Regions from separate parts of the Homo sapiens genome. Here all the other regions are linked to region 2. Evidence: promoter capture Hi-C in 16 types of primary human blood cells and fetal thymus (Javierre and others, 2016). All regions are on one chromosome and are shown on one strand. Each heading gives the region's core, a stretch centred on a gene start or on the middle of the fragment in contact. The rest is flanking DNA. Distances are from core to core; before and after follow the strand shown.

The links. The method cuts DNA at HindIII sites, captures the fragments that hold promoters and counts their contacts. A CHiCAGO score of 5 or more calls a contact.
Region 1: a contact is called between a fragment that was not itself captured here and the fragment with the promoter of CDK6 in region 2, in 2 of 17 cell types (neutrophils and fetal thymus). The highest score is 5.4, in neutrophils.
Region 3: a fragment that was not itself captured here is called in contact with the fragment with the promoter of CDK6 in region 2 in 13 of 17 cell types (fetal thymus, monocytes, erythroblasts and 10 more); the score reaches 16.8 in fetal thymus.
Region 4: a contact is called between a fragment that was not itself captured here and the fragment with the promoter of CDK6 in region 2, in 1 of 17 cell types (fetal thymus). The highest score is 9.3, in fetal thymus.
Region 5: a fragment that was not itself captured here is called in contact with the fragment with the promoter of CDK6 in region 2 in 2 of 17 cell types (activated CD4 T cells and naive CD4 T cells); the score reaches 5.9 in activated CD4 T cells.

Annotation. Positions count from the first base shown.
Region 1 is chr7:93,238,328-93,241,027 of GRCh38, forward strand. It overlaps VPS50 (VPS50 subunit of EARP/GARPII complex), which reads left to right. Exons shown (of 28, transcript NM_017667.4): 2 at 1,539-1,607. Among named protein-coding and RNA genes, the nearest start is that of VPS50, 7.3 kb to the left of the region's middle. The HindIII fragment of the contact is 740 bases long and covers 949-1,688 here.
Region 2 is chr7:92,835,148-92,837,847 of GRCh38, forward strand. It overlaps CDK6 (cyclin dependent kinase 6), which reads right to left and starts at 1,426. Exons shown (of 8, transcript NM_001145306.2): 1 at 1,331-1,426. CDK6-AS1 (CDK6 antisense RNA 1) reads left to right here and starts at 1,336. Exons shown (of 2, transcript NR_110088.1): 1 at 1,336-1,416. RefSeq lists silencers at 9-258, 1,369-1,728 and an enhancer at 839-918. The HindIII fragment of the contact is 6,850 bases long and covers 1-2,700 here.
Region 3 is chr7:93,115,681-93,118,380 of GRCh38, forward strand. SAMD9 (sterile alpha motif domain containing 9) reads right to left here and starts at 2,299. Exons shown (of 3, transcript NM_017654.4): 1 at 2,183-2,299. The HindIII fragment of the contact is 1,297 bases long and covers 796-2,092 here.
Region 4 is chr7:92,523,652-92,526,351 of GRCh38, forward strand. All of the region lies in intron 1 of PEX1 (peroxisomal biogenesis factor 1), which reads right to left. Among named protein-coding and RNA genes, the nearest start is that of PEX1, 3.5 kb to the right of the region's middle. The HindIII fragment of the contact is 2,467 bases long and covers 208-2,674 here.
Region 5 is chr7:92,563,608-92,566,307 of GRCh38, forward strand. It overlaps FAM133B (family with sequence similarity 133 member B), which reads right to left. Exons shown (of 11, transcript NM_152789.4): 10 at 2,407-2,454. Among named protein-coding and RNA genes, the nearest start is that of FAM133B, 25 kb to the right of the region's middle. The HindIII fragment of the contact is 1,774 bases long and covers 557-2,330 here.

The DNA of each region.
Region 1 (2,700 bases), core at 69-2,568, 400 kb after region 2:
AAATTTTTTTGCAGTCAATTACATGTTCCCATGGGAACAATGCGCTAATTTGTGGGAGATTGGAGCCTGACCAATGACTTCTACCTAATAATTTACTCATTTCTTTGTTGTTTACTCTGTTTCTGGAACTTTGCTAGCCACTGGGCTGCAGAGGCAAATAGGACTTTGTCTCTCCCTTTCCTTAGGACTTAAAGTTTGGAAGAGAAAGATATATTTAAAATTTAAAACTTTACTACTTTGGCTGAGGTATTGTCTTGGAAGATGTCTTACTGAGGTATTGTTTTGGGAAAATGCACATTCCTGGCCCAAATCTAGAAAAACCTATTCATTAGGTTTATTTTAGGGCCTAGGAATCTTACTTTTAACAAGTTCCCTGGGTGGTGTTGATGGACATGATCCAAGGGTTATACTGAGAAATACTGTGTTCTTTGGAGCATAGGGATTTAGGAAGACTTTGTAGAGGAGATAATTCTGAAAGTGATGTATTGCTTTCTCATTTCTTGGAGTGGTAAGTGTGCCTGAGAGAGGGAGACGGGGAGAGAAGGGTGGGTAGGTTAGATATTCTGGGGGTAATGGAAAACTTGCGGTTGAGGCAGAGCACTTTGTAATAAAAAATTTTAGATATGACTAGTGGTATTTTACAACAGGGAAGAGAAAATACACATCTCTGTAGTTTAAAGATAAGCAAGTTCTGCTCTGAGTCTCAAATAGTCAACATAAGCATACCATATATTTTGGTTACTAAGGATCCCCAATATAGGGCACCTAAAGGACAATTTGTATCATAAATCTCTCCTCAAATTAATAATAGCTAATTTTGCCTAAAAACTAATATTGCAGGGACATTAAATGTCTGCTTCGAATAGCCTATTTTTAAAAAGAGGATTTTAAAGAAAATGTAAATTGCTGATTTCTTTCTATTTTAATAATTTCCCCTGGTACAAATAAAGCTTTCAGAATCCCTCAGTTGATGTGAATATAGAAAGTACAGGGCACCAAAGAACTAAAGGACAGGTAAAAGACAGTGAGATATGAGACTTCAATCTTAATTTATGCAGCATGAATTGGATACATTGGTGGGAAATAATCAAGTAAAATGAAGGGATTACTTATATGTTAGCTTAGTTGGTTAGTATATTGTATCTGTGAATCATAATACTATTGCTTGGACTTTTTTCCTGATGGATTTAGTAATTATTATTGTATATACAAGTGGCTTTTATAGAATGCTTTTTGTTATGTAAGTTTCTTTACTTTTGGCTGTTTTCAAATCATAGATGGGTTGGACTTCTACCATTAGTTGTGAAGTTGCCGTATAATACTCTTTTATTTTAAAATACCAAAAGTACACCCTTCTCTGATTTAATAATAGTACTATATGTATTAAATGATGATTGCTTTTAGAATATATCTTCCATATTTTGAAGCAGGAAAATTTCTATTTTTAAAGTGGTCATTTCTGTTTCAGTAGGTGTATTCTATCCTTTTATAATTCTTCAGCATGATTAAAATTTTCCTCATCTTATTATTTTTTTAAGGGTCTGAAAAGCCCTCAAGAAAGCCTCAGTGATCTTGGTGCCATAGAGAGTCTCCGGGTCCCTGGAAAGGTATTGAGCTACACGTGTGAGCGTGACTTTTTACTTCCTTAAGAAAATATGATTGCCTCTGGATAGTAATTGATTCACAGAAGCTTTTCTTTCCCACAGGCAGATGGTTGTTAAGATAAGCTAGGTAAATTTTTATTGTATAGTAGGTGTAGGGCTTGTTTCATTACACGTTGGGATGCAGTATGTATGATGCATTATAGCAAAGCAAAAAATGCAAACTTGATAAATTTGGAATTTATTATATTAAATTCTTAGCCTGAAAGCAGTTGTATATATGTGTATGCACACACACACACACACACACACACACACACACTCTCTCTCTCTCTCTCTCTCATTGATTTATCTGCTGTAATTTGTAGAAATAAAGTGAAATAGTTGACTACTGACTTTTTATACTCCTAACATTCTGTGCCAAAAATCATGATTATATTTTTGTTGTGGAGCAGAGGTTTTTGAAAAAGCATCTAAACCATAGTATTTATACTGAATTGTATAACTTATCTCCTAGATTGTAGGTATTTTAGATTTTAATCCTCTGATATTCACGTGAATTTCTCAGTTTACAAATTTTATATAGGTTATTTGAAAGCTAGCTAGATTCCCCTTGGAATTATTAAGTATTGTTAAATCCCTGCTGTTTTTCTGGAGTGTTGCTGCTTGGAGCTGCCCATGTGAATAGCTGCTCCATCACAGATTAAGCTGGCACTTCTGAATGTCTGTTTTTGTATTTTTTAATTTGAGAGTGATACGTGAAAATACTGTTTGTTTTCTGCATCAGGCATTTGAATACACAGGGTGTGCTTCTCTTGATCAGCAGTTTAAGGCCTCTCCTTACACCTCGGTGTCAGCTCCTTAGGAGGATGATTTCTCATCTCTTTCAGGTGCCTTACCTGCTAAAGTGAATTTTGTATTTACTGCATTGTTTTTATTTTGGGTTAGGCTGAAACATATTCTCCAAATGCAATAAAATTATAACCAACCCTTTTGCATGAAATGGTTCAGACAAAAACTTAAGAAAAGCATTCCGTATAGTTTTATGTAATGTTATTAAAAATTAATGACTATGAAAAGGTTGGGAAACAAGAGATAG
Region 2 (2,700 bases), core at 176-2,675:
CAGAACTTTCCTTAAAAGCCGAGGAAAGAGCCCCCAGGGACTGCCCGGGGGTCTGAGCCAGGTCGAGGGCCACACAGGTAGCCGGGGAGCCGCCGCCGGCCGCCCAACCCGCCTGTCCTGCATCCCCCCAACCCCCTCCCGCTCGAGTCTAGCCCCGGGCTCCGCAGCGAAGGAAGCGTCGGGGACGTCCCACCCCCGCAGGGAACTGCGCCTGCTGCCCCCGCCGGGCCCCGCACTGCCCTGGCTCTCCCCCCACTCGCCCCCCAGACGGTCGGCTTCGGCGGAGAGAAACGGGAGCAGCAATGCCTTTTCCCCCCCTCTCCTCCACTTTTTTTTGTTGTTGTTGTTGCTTTCCCACGCTGGCTGAATGTGACTTGACCCCATTTCAAAAAAAGTTTGACATAGTGCTTCAACATTTCCGCATTCCTCCGCGACTACAAAGGCTGCAGCCGCCTCCTTCTGCTTTCTGTCTCTGCTCTCTGTCTTCACACTCAATGAAATCCTTCATGCGCCTCTCCCGAAGCCTGCCAAGCACCACAAGGGTCGCCACCAGCACAGCGACAAGAGGCCACACCGGGGACCGCGACTCCCGCGTGTGCGCACACGCAGATGCGCCCATATGCACACGGACGGGCGCGCTGCGGGGACCAGGGCTGCTCACTGCGGGGCGTGTGTTTAACTCCAATATTTTAAATTATAAAAGTAAACTTGGAAACTACAGCAAACGTGCGTCTTCGCGGGGCTCCAAGCCTGGGCACTGGCCGGCTGCGTGCACTTTTCTGTGTATAACACGCCCGCAGGAAGCCTGCGTTAACATTTATCTCGTGGAGGGGAAGGTGGAGCCCACACCCACACCTCAGCGAGCTGGAGAGGGAGTTTTCGAGGGGGAAATGCAAGCACATTCTCCAGCATGGAGTCCCTAGAGGCAGTGCATTTTAAACCCTAAATGTGAATTATTATGTGAGTGTCCGAGTAGAGTTCCAGTTCCGTTTGGAGAAACTGTATGAGGCGTGTTCCGTGTGGGTGTGTGTGCGTACGGATACGTGGAAGCAGGATCTCGGTGTCGCGGGTGTCCCTAGGCTGGGATCTCCCCCTCTCATCAGATAAGGAGAATCCTCTAGCTCCCCAAAACTGGCCCCCATAACCAATCCCGTCTCAGTTCGTAAGGGGTTAACCAAAGCCGATTCCAAGGAAACACAGGTCCCCCCCACCCCCCGCCACCCTCCACTTACCCCACCCACAGTTCTGCCTCGGACCCCGGCCAATCCCCCAGATCTCCCCCGGGACCCCCCACCCCGCAGCCCACCCACCCGAGCGCACAGCTCCTCACCTGAGGGGCCCAGTCGCGTCGGGCCTCCCGAGGGGGCTGCGAGTGTCAGTCGGCTCTCCGCACGTGTCCGCGGCCTCGCGGAGCAGGTAATCAGACTCTGGGGAAGGAGTTACCAGCACTCTCTCCGGCGAGGGGGTGGGCACAGCGGCGGAGGGCGGAGGGACGGCGGAGGGCGCCGCCCGCGCCGCTCGCTGGGGGCGGACGGGGGCCGCTGGGCTCCGGCCGGCGCTGGGGGCCCCAGCCGGGGAGGCAGCTGGGGCGACCGTGCGGGGTGGGGGCAGGGACCCGCGAAGCCAACTCTGCCGGAGACCCACCCCCCGGCGGGGCTGGGGGCTCGTGGCGCAGTGGCAAGAAAGTGTGCAAATTAAAGCCTTCCGGAGAGAAATGAGGCGGCCGAGTCCCGGCAGTGCTCCGAGCTCCGGGCTCCCTAGCTCCCTTCTACGAGTCGGGGGCTAGAAGGGCGCGGTGGGGGTGGGGGTGGGGGGGAGAGTTAAATGAAAATTTCCGGCTTTCGCTGAAACTGTAGTAGGGGGATCCTGCGACTAAAATAAGCGGCATTAGTGGGAGAGAGTGGGACGTGTCGTCGGGAGTCGGCGGAGTTTCCAAACCCAGGGTCGCCCAGAGTTGGGGTTTTGACAGGGTGAAGCGGGGGGCATCCTCACTGTGTGACGTGGACGGATGGGAAAAACACAAAACAACCAACAATAATTATGAGCGGCCAATGGGGGTGGTAAATACCAATACTTTCCAAGAAACTGAAAAATCAGACCAAAAAATAACTCTTCTCTTAAAAAAATAAAGAAAAAGTTTGGCAGGATGCCTTGCAGAAAAGAAAATACTAATCTATCCAAGCACTTTTCACTTTCAGCATGAGCTACATTTGTTTTGTTTTCCTTCGCTTCCTTTCTGCCTCACAAAGCCCTATCTTTTCCTTTTAGACAGAGGATATGGTTTGGAAATTGTCAGGCACTCTTATGGTTAACGATCTACTTGAAGGGGCTGGCGGGCTCACAATTATTAAGTGGTTAGTAACTGCTGAGGGTTCACTAACGTATTTCAGAGGAGCTAAAAAGACTAAAATTTAGTGTAAATAATAGAACTGCAGATAGTAGATACATACACAAAAAGAGGAGTGCTCAGTTTAAATGCATTATTGGAAATCTGAAATTTGAAACCTTGTAAGAATGTATACTTTACCTGCTGAGAAACCCTTGAATACAATTATTTCAGGTGAAAATTAGATTTTGGAGAAAAAAAAGTCTTTAAAACTTTCTACAATGGAGTAAAAGAAAACTTGAAATAGCTGTCTTTTTGGAAAGAATTTGGTGTTCTCCCCAAAATCTCTATCTGTAGAATACTTGAAACCCTTT
Region 3 (2,700 bases), core at 194-2,693, 280 kb after region 2:
AATGCCTCCAAAATACATTAGAAAATAAAACGGATGAATAAAATAAAAGAGATACTTGCATAAAAAAGATGATGGTGTGTTATGAATCAAGGATAATTGTGAATTCAATGGTATGTGAGGTCCTAAAGTTTTACTAGGTGTTTATTATTGCAGTCTCAGATTATGAACTTTTGACTTCTGCATCCCACTCAGTGTTGATTCAATACTGGTTTTAGAGTTGTCTAAAAACTGACTACACCCTCGTCTAGTAACCATTCTATCTGAGTCACTTTCTTGTATCCATTTACTGAGTCACGTCTACTCCACCCTATGAAAGTATGCTCACTTTTGTTGCACCCACACTATTTAACACATAAAGCAGGGGTCCCCGATTATTGTGCTGCTAGCGTGCGCTGGCTCCTGAGGCCTCATACCTATGGCTCTCATCCCCCATCTCGCCGCTTCCCACCAGTACCCTTTTCCTAGGGTCTCCCTGACTTCCTTCATCAACTTGGACCTTTCACAGTTTTACAGACACAGTCCTTAGTCTCTGGTGATATGTCATAAACTAGATTATGAGACTGGTGAATTAGATGGATTATTTGATTCATGCAAGAACTACATACCATTATATGTGAAAACGTAAAGTCAGGTTCTCATATAAGAGTGTGGGGGATGGAGAACTGGGCCTGAACATTTGGTTGGGAAAGTAAGCAAATAATAAAGAAGTGACTTTTGACTGTTTTCTCTACTAGAGACACTATGAATATTTCAAATGTCATTGAACAGGTTACACTTTCACACTTCTTCCCCTAAAGCTTTTGTCAGATTATTGATAGCTGTGCCTTTCAATACATTATTTTAAAAAAATTGTTGATGATGTCACTCTTGGAGAAAATATATGCCAGCATTCATAGGTATTTATGCCACTGTTCATAGATATTTTACATATTAATGATTTCTTTATACCCTCTCGTTCCAAAATGTTTTTTAGGTAATTTAGAAAGTAATATAGGATCACACATATATTAAAACCCTTAGGTAAAGAAATCATGGGGAAGGCTAAATAAGGGTAGGGGGAGAAAAGGTGAAATGAGGGAGTAAAATTAGTACCTAAAATTACTGGTTTTGATTCCGTATACTTTAAAAACTGACCTGAAAATTTGGTTCTGAGCATCTTAGTAGGAAACACTATTTGTTACTGATTGAACCCACATACATTTTTTAACTCTGGTTGGTGTTAAACTGTAGGGTTTGTTAACTTTTCTAGAAGGGAGTTGAAGGTCAGACCTTTATTCAGAAATGTGATCCTCCAACCGTCTTGCATTATCTTACTGTTTGCTTTGGGGAGAAATTAGACATAAACCTAGTATTTTTGCCAGGAACATAAAGCTGCCTTAATTCCAAAGACTTCCCATAGTAGTCTATCTGTCTGTCTGTCTTCCTATGTATGTCATCCGACAACAATATCTGAGAAGCTCTCAGAGAGTTTTGTTTTCTGGAAGCTACCTATTTCTTAGAGTAGATGGTGGAAGTTGTATTTGATTAAAGTAAAGTACTTTTAAGTTTTCATTGCCTGTTCTTTATCTATCTTTCCGTTTGTTGTTGTTGTTGTTGTTGTTGTTGTTGTTGTTTTTGAGACAGTGTCTCACTCTGTTGCCTATGCTGGAGTGCAGTGGTACAATTACAGCTCACTGTAACCTTAAATTCCTGGGCTCAAGCAATCCTTCTGCCTCAGCCTCCAAAGTAGCTAGACTGCAGCTGCGTGCCACCACATCCAGCTATTTTTTTTTTTGGTAGGAATCTTGCTAGGTAGGGTCTTGCTATGTTGCCCAAGCTAATTTTGAATTCCTGGCCTCAAACAATTCTCCTGTCCTTGCCTTCCAAAGTGCTCAAATTACAGGCTACCACACCTGGCCTGTTTGTTCTTTCTGAAGATGCTGTATGCCTTGGGAGAGTTCATCAATAAAAGTGTCTGTAGTTTTCAACTGCATCTTTAATGAAATGTTATGACTAATTTTTCAACTAATATAAAGCAGACTGCTGTCAGAGCAACAAATAGTCTAGAATTTCTAGGCTTAGAATACTATTTTTTGTTTTGAGGTATATTTGAAGCTTCTAATTGAAAAGTATATTTCTTTCTATTCAATAAAATGCTGCTATAGATAGTAAGAACAATATTAATAATAGATATTGTACTTACCCAGTAGTCTTGCAAATTTCTTTTACATATATGTGGGGAAAACCATCTCTTTTAGTGCTGAAAATATCTGATGTGTTTGTTTTCTTCCTCCTACGATGCTAGAGAAAAGTATTTTCCTCATTCTGGTTTTAACGGAAGTCTATGTATTCTCTGCTTCTGTCTCACAGCAAGCTCTAATTGGCTCAGAAACAGCAGGGCGTGTTTAACAACTGGGAGGTTGGGGAAGGAAGAATATAGGTTTGGTTTCAGTTTCATTTCTCAGATCTGAAATTACAGCACCGCCTTTTCTATCTGAAATGCTTTTTAATAAGCTATGGCTATATACCACCTTCTGGTCTGCTTGGTTAAAATCTGAAGGCTTAACAATTTTTCCTCACTTGAGAGTTTTGAGGGCTGCAGAAAGCCCCATTGTCTTGTTATAGACAAACTGTGGGATATTCTGGCTTAATTGATCCCTTGGGAATATGAGTTTACATTGCAGTCCCAGCCTTGTAGAGCACCAGGTTGGAGATACTCTA
Region 4 (2,700 bases), core at 191-2,690, 310 kb before region 2:
TTAATATGTATCAATAATAAATTTTAAAAATCAGCCAGGTGTGGTGGCATACGCCTGTGGTCCCATCTACTCAGGAAGCCGAGGTGGGAGGATCACTTGAGTCAGGGAGGTTGAGGCTACAGTGAGCCATGATAGTGCCATTACACTCCAGTCTGGGCAACAGAGTGAGAACCCGTCACACACACAAAAAGACTTATTATATCAGGAAGCTTCAGTGTTATTAATTTATTTATATCAAAATAAATTCATTAAGTTAAAAATATTAGGCCAGGTGCAGTGGCTCACATGTGTAATCTTTATACTTTGGGAGACTGAGACAGGAGGATTGTTTGAGCCCAGAAGTTCAAAGCCAGCCTGGGCAACATGGCAAGATCTACATCTCTACAGAACAGTTTTCATAATTTAAAATATTAAATATCAAATTCATTCATTTACATGCAATTTTTTTTTTCCTGAGACAGGATCTCACTGTGTTGCCCAGGCTCGAGTACAGTGGCAAAATCACGGCTCACTGCAGCCTTAACCTCCTGGGCTCAAGTGATCTTCCCACCTCAGTCTCTCAAAGTGCTGGGATTACAGGCATGAGCCAACATGCCCAGTCTTTATGTTTCTTGCTTTTTTTTTTTTTTTTCTTGAGACGGAGACTCACTCTGTCACCCAGGCTGGAGGGCAGTGGCACAATCTCGGCTCACTGCAACCTCCACCTCCCAGATTCAAGCAATTCTCCTGCCTCAGCCTCCCAAGTAGCTGGGATTACAGGCCCCCACCAAATGCCCGGCTAATTTTTGTATTTTTAGTAGAGATGGGGTTTTACCATGTTGGCCAGGCTGGTCTCGAACTCCTGACCTCAGGTGATCTGCCTGCCTCAGCCTCCCAAAGTGCTGGGATTACAGGCGTGAGCCACCATAGCCAGCTTATGTTTCTTTAAATGAGACAAATTTCAAACAATGTTGGAGCCACTTCTGGGACAATATAACGTACTGGAAATTAACCATGTTATTACAATTTTATATTTAAGAAAGCCATCATCATGTATCACTTAGTTGTGTAATTTTTCTCACAATTTTCACAGAACAGTCCAACTGTTCTGGCTGACAAATTCTTTCAACTGAGTGTATTTTGCCTAGATTTGGAATCAAAAGTCTTAAGTTACCATATCAGCTGTAACCGTGTGAGCTATTACAAGAATGAAGGTGATCAAGCCCCAGATGCTTTCTATGGGTTTTCATCAGAGTCAGCAATACATAATCCAGATAAATTCTACTTCATATGAAGAAACTTAAGAGATGGAAATATGAAAGATGCCCTGAAATATCAAAAAAGGAAACTCTACCAGCTCACTGAAAAAAGGAAAAATGAACCTTATTGAGGAGGAAAAATACTTCTAATTATTTATTTGGTCAAAAAGTAGTAACCAGCTCCATAAAGCCACAATATGTGCTCAGTTATATTGAGCAAACTCTGCAGACCAATGTTCTAAGTTAATTTTTATGTCAAAATACTTCACTTGAACCACAGAGCCCTGGCTATTCAGGTAAAGAGAAGAAAGAGACAGCTAGAAAGGAGCGTCTTTTCCAGGAGTCAAATCAAATCAATCAATTAATTGACCTTCTTTGACCCAAACTGAGGTATCAGTATTACCAGGAAATCTGCAGGTAAAACCATACATCAGAATGCCTTAGGAATAATCAGGTCCAAAGCCTAGGGTATCTCTTGCTAACACAAGGGAAATGAAAATTGTGTGGCCATATCCGAATGGTGATTTAGGTTCGTTTGCATTCACTGTGTATATGAATCCTCTCCCCCTGCTGCAATCACATCAAGTTCTGAGTACAGAGAAGATAACTTAGTTGAAGCGGTGGTTCTCAACCAGAGGTGATTTTGTCCTTCAGTAGACATCTGACAATGTCTGAAGACCTTTTTGGTTGTCACAGATAGGGGGAGGCAGTACAGGCGTCTACTGGATAGAGGCCAAGGGTGCTGTTAAACATCTTAAAATGTACAGGAGAGCCCCCAAAACAAAAAATTATCCAGCTCAAAATGTCAACAGTGCCAAGGTTGAGAAATCCTGACTTAAAGCATCTACTGGGTAGTCAGTCCTGAAATAATGACTTGAGTAAACAAGAGAATACAATACTTGAAACACAGTACAGAGTATATCAAATGTGATGTGTCACATAACACAACAGAGAAGTATTGAAAGGGAGACAAATGTGGGCAACAGAGAATTGGAAAGCTATGTGGAGGAGGTAGGATTATTCCTTTTTAAAGACATGGAATTTGTATGGAAGGAAGAAAAATGACTGAGGGAAGAATGGCATGAGTAAGAGAACAGAAGTGGGAAGGAGATTGGTTATAGAAGAAACAGTGAGAACGGTAGGTTGGGTGATGCAGAGTGAGCTATAGACAAGAGGGCAAATTAGCTGCATGGCAATGGTACTGGCCTAGGAATGCCAGTTTCCTTACATGTAAAAGTACAGAAACGACCTAGATGCTTAAGGTCTCTATCGTCATTAAAATTCTATGATTCTAGGACAGTAGGTCTCAACTCTTTTGTGCATCCAAGTAGCCTGAATAAATTTTTTAAAATTAGAGATGCCTAAAGCCTATTCCCTAAGATTTTAGGTCTGATTTAATAGGTCTGAGGGTTGATCAGAACATCTGTATTCTTAAAAGCTTCAAGGTAAGTCTGACATAGGC
Region 5 (2,700 bases), core at 194-2,693, 270 kb before region 2:
ATATTCAGTCCTACTCTTTGACCTCAGGACGATAAGTGCCTCATTAACAGCTCTACCTGGGATGTCTCGTAGGCATATCTGAAATTAGCACAACAAAATGCTTCATTTTTCTCTCCAAATCCTCAGCCATCTTAGTAACTGGCACTACTTATCTGTCATTTTGCTTAGGTCAAAGAATCTAAGCTATCTCTGATTCTGCTCTTTAACTCCAATGTCCGCATTCAAAGTACCAAGCAAGTCTTACCATCTAAGTTCAAAATGTATCTCAAATCCATCCTTGCCAGTCCAACTCCATTACTATCACTGCTGTACAAACATCATTCCTCACTTGTGCCCACTTATCTCCTGTACCAAAGGATTTACAAAATGTAAAATATTTAGGTCACCTCTTTGTTTAAAACCCTCAGAACAGCTTCTTATAACATTCTGATGAAAACACACTCTGCTGTGTAATGTAAGTAAGCCTCTGCTTACTTCCTACCCTCATTGTATGGCATTCCTCTTTCCCCACCAGGCATTAAGCCACTTACCTTCTCTTAGTCCCTCAAATATATCAAGCTTATTCTCACTATAGGTCTCTAAGAGCTCTTCCCTCTGCCTAGGATATTCTTTCCTTTGATATTCACATGGTTGGCTCTTTCTTGTAAATCAGATTTCAGCTTAATTTCACTTCCTCAGCGAGGATTTCATGAGCCCGTCCCCACAGTATCTCTCTCACGTATCATATTCTTCTATCTCATACTCTTTTGTACTCTTAAGACTTAGAAAAGTGCCTGCATAGAGTTGCTTCATACATACACACTAGCTGAAAGCATGAAACAGTGAAAGTATGCAAATACTTATTTGGTTATGTCTTAATTAATTAATCCGAACCACAGACCAAAGCTATCTTCACCCAAACTACTTTCACATTCAGAACAAACAAACAAACAAACAAAAACTTATTCGTCATCGTAGGCTTGGAGCACATAAAATGTTATTTCTGAATCATTACTAGGGGAGCCTTCCTATCAGAGAAGGTACCTCGTTTTAAGAGTCAGGAAAATTCTGGGAAGGGGTTACTGAAACCTACAAATGATGATGTTTTCATTTTTCTTTCACCTTTCCCTAAGAAAATGCCTTCAAAGGTCATAGCTCACATTTATACTGAGGGCCCCTAAATTACTTTGCTGATATTGTTGGCATTACTCTTTGAAAATAATCTCTGTTAACCATTTTCTCTTGGTTGATCTGTTTCTTGTTTGGATACTACTTCTATTTTCCTTAATTCGCCTCTTCTTTCTCTTTTCTTCTCAATTTGCATTAATAGCAGAGTTTGGCTTTAAAAGCTATCAAAAGAATCTTTATTAATGAGTCATTTATGTTGTCATATTATTATTTTTTCATTGCAGCTAGTGCTTGGAGAGGCTTTTTCTGTTATTACCAGATTTGGCTGATTTGGAAGTAACTATTATCAAAGATAACAGAAATCACCATACTTTGGTCTCTCGTATTTCATATTGTAGCTTAAGGAAGTCAAACAGAAATTTGAGCTTATATTTCTTTTTTTTTTTTTTTTTTTAAGACGGAGTCTTGCTCTGTTGCTGAGGCTGGAGTGCAGTGGGGCGATCTCAGCTCACTGCAACCTCTGCTGCCCAGGTTCAAGCAATTCTCCTGCCTCAGCCTCCCGAATAGCTGGATTACAGGCGCCCGCCACCACGCCCGGCTAATTTTTGTATTTTTTTTTTTAGTAGAGACGGGGTTTCACCATGTTGGACAGGCTGGTCTTGAACTCCTGACCTTGCAATCCACCCGTCTCGGCCTCCCAAAGTGCTGGGATTACAGGCGTGAGCCACTGTGCCCCACCTGAGCTTATATATATATATATGTTTTTTGAGACGGAGTCGCACTCTGTCGCCCAGGCTGGAGTGCAGTGGCGTGATCTCAGCTCACTGCAAGCTCTGCCTCCCGGGTTCACGCCATTCTCCTGCCTCAGCCTCCCGAGTAGCTGGGACTATAGGTGCCCGCCACCATGCCCGGCTAATTTTTTGTATTTTTAGTAGAGACGGGGTTTCACCGTGTTAGCCAGGATGGTCTCGAGCTCCTGACCTCATGATCCACCTGCCTCAGCCTCTCAAAGTGCTGGGATTACAGGCGTGAGACACAGCGCCCAGCCCTGAGCTTATATTTCTAACAGTAAAATACTGAAATGGAAACAGGACATGCTTGCTACCAGGGTATTTTTTATTTTTCCTGAACCATTTTGACTTTCTCCTACCCATTAAGTGAAGCTGCTGAACACACCACACCTTTCCCAACAAATACTTATTTGGTCCCAGTAAATCCAATCAAGCTTTACCATGACTCATTTTATATTAAACCAAAACACCTATTCTATTGTCTGTAAAAACGTTAAGAGATACTTGCTGTTGCTTTTTCTCGTTCTTCACTGCTTTTCTTCTTTTTTGCTCGCACCTAGAAAGTTTAAATTTTTGTGGAGAACAGAAGACAAACATGTAATTTGTACTCAAGGCATTTTTCTTTCATTCTCTATCTTGCATCTTCAAAATTTAAATGTAAAAAACATTTTGACAATCACAGGACATTTAAAATAACTCCTGTTATATCTCAATGAGGTTTCAATAAAAAACATAAAGGAAGGACAATTAAGACGTAAAATCTCTAGACAGCTTCTCTTATATTCCCTTTCAGCACCTAAAA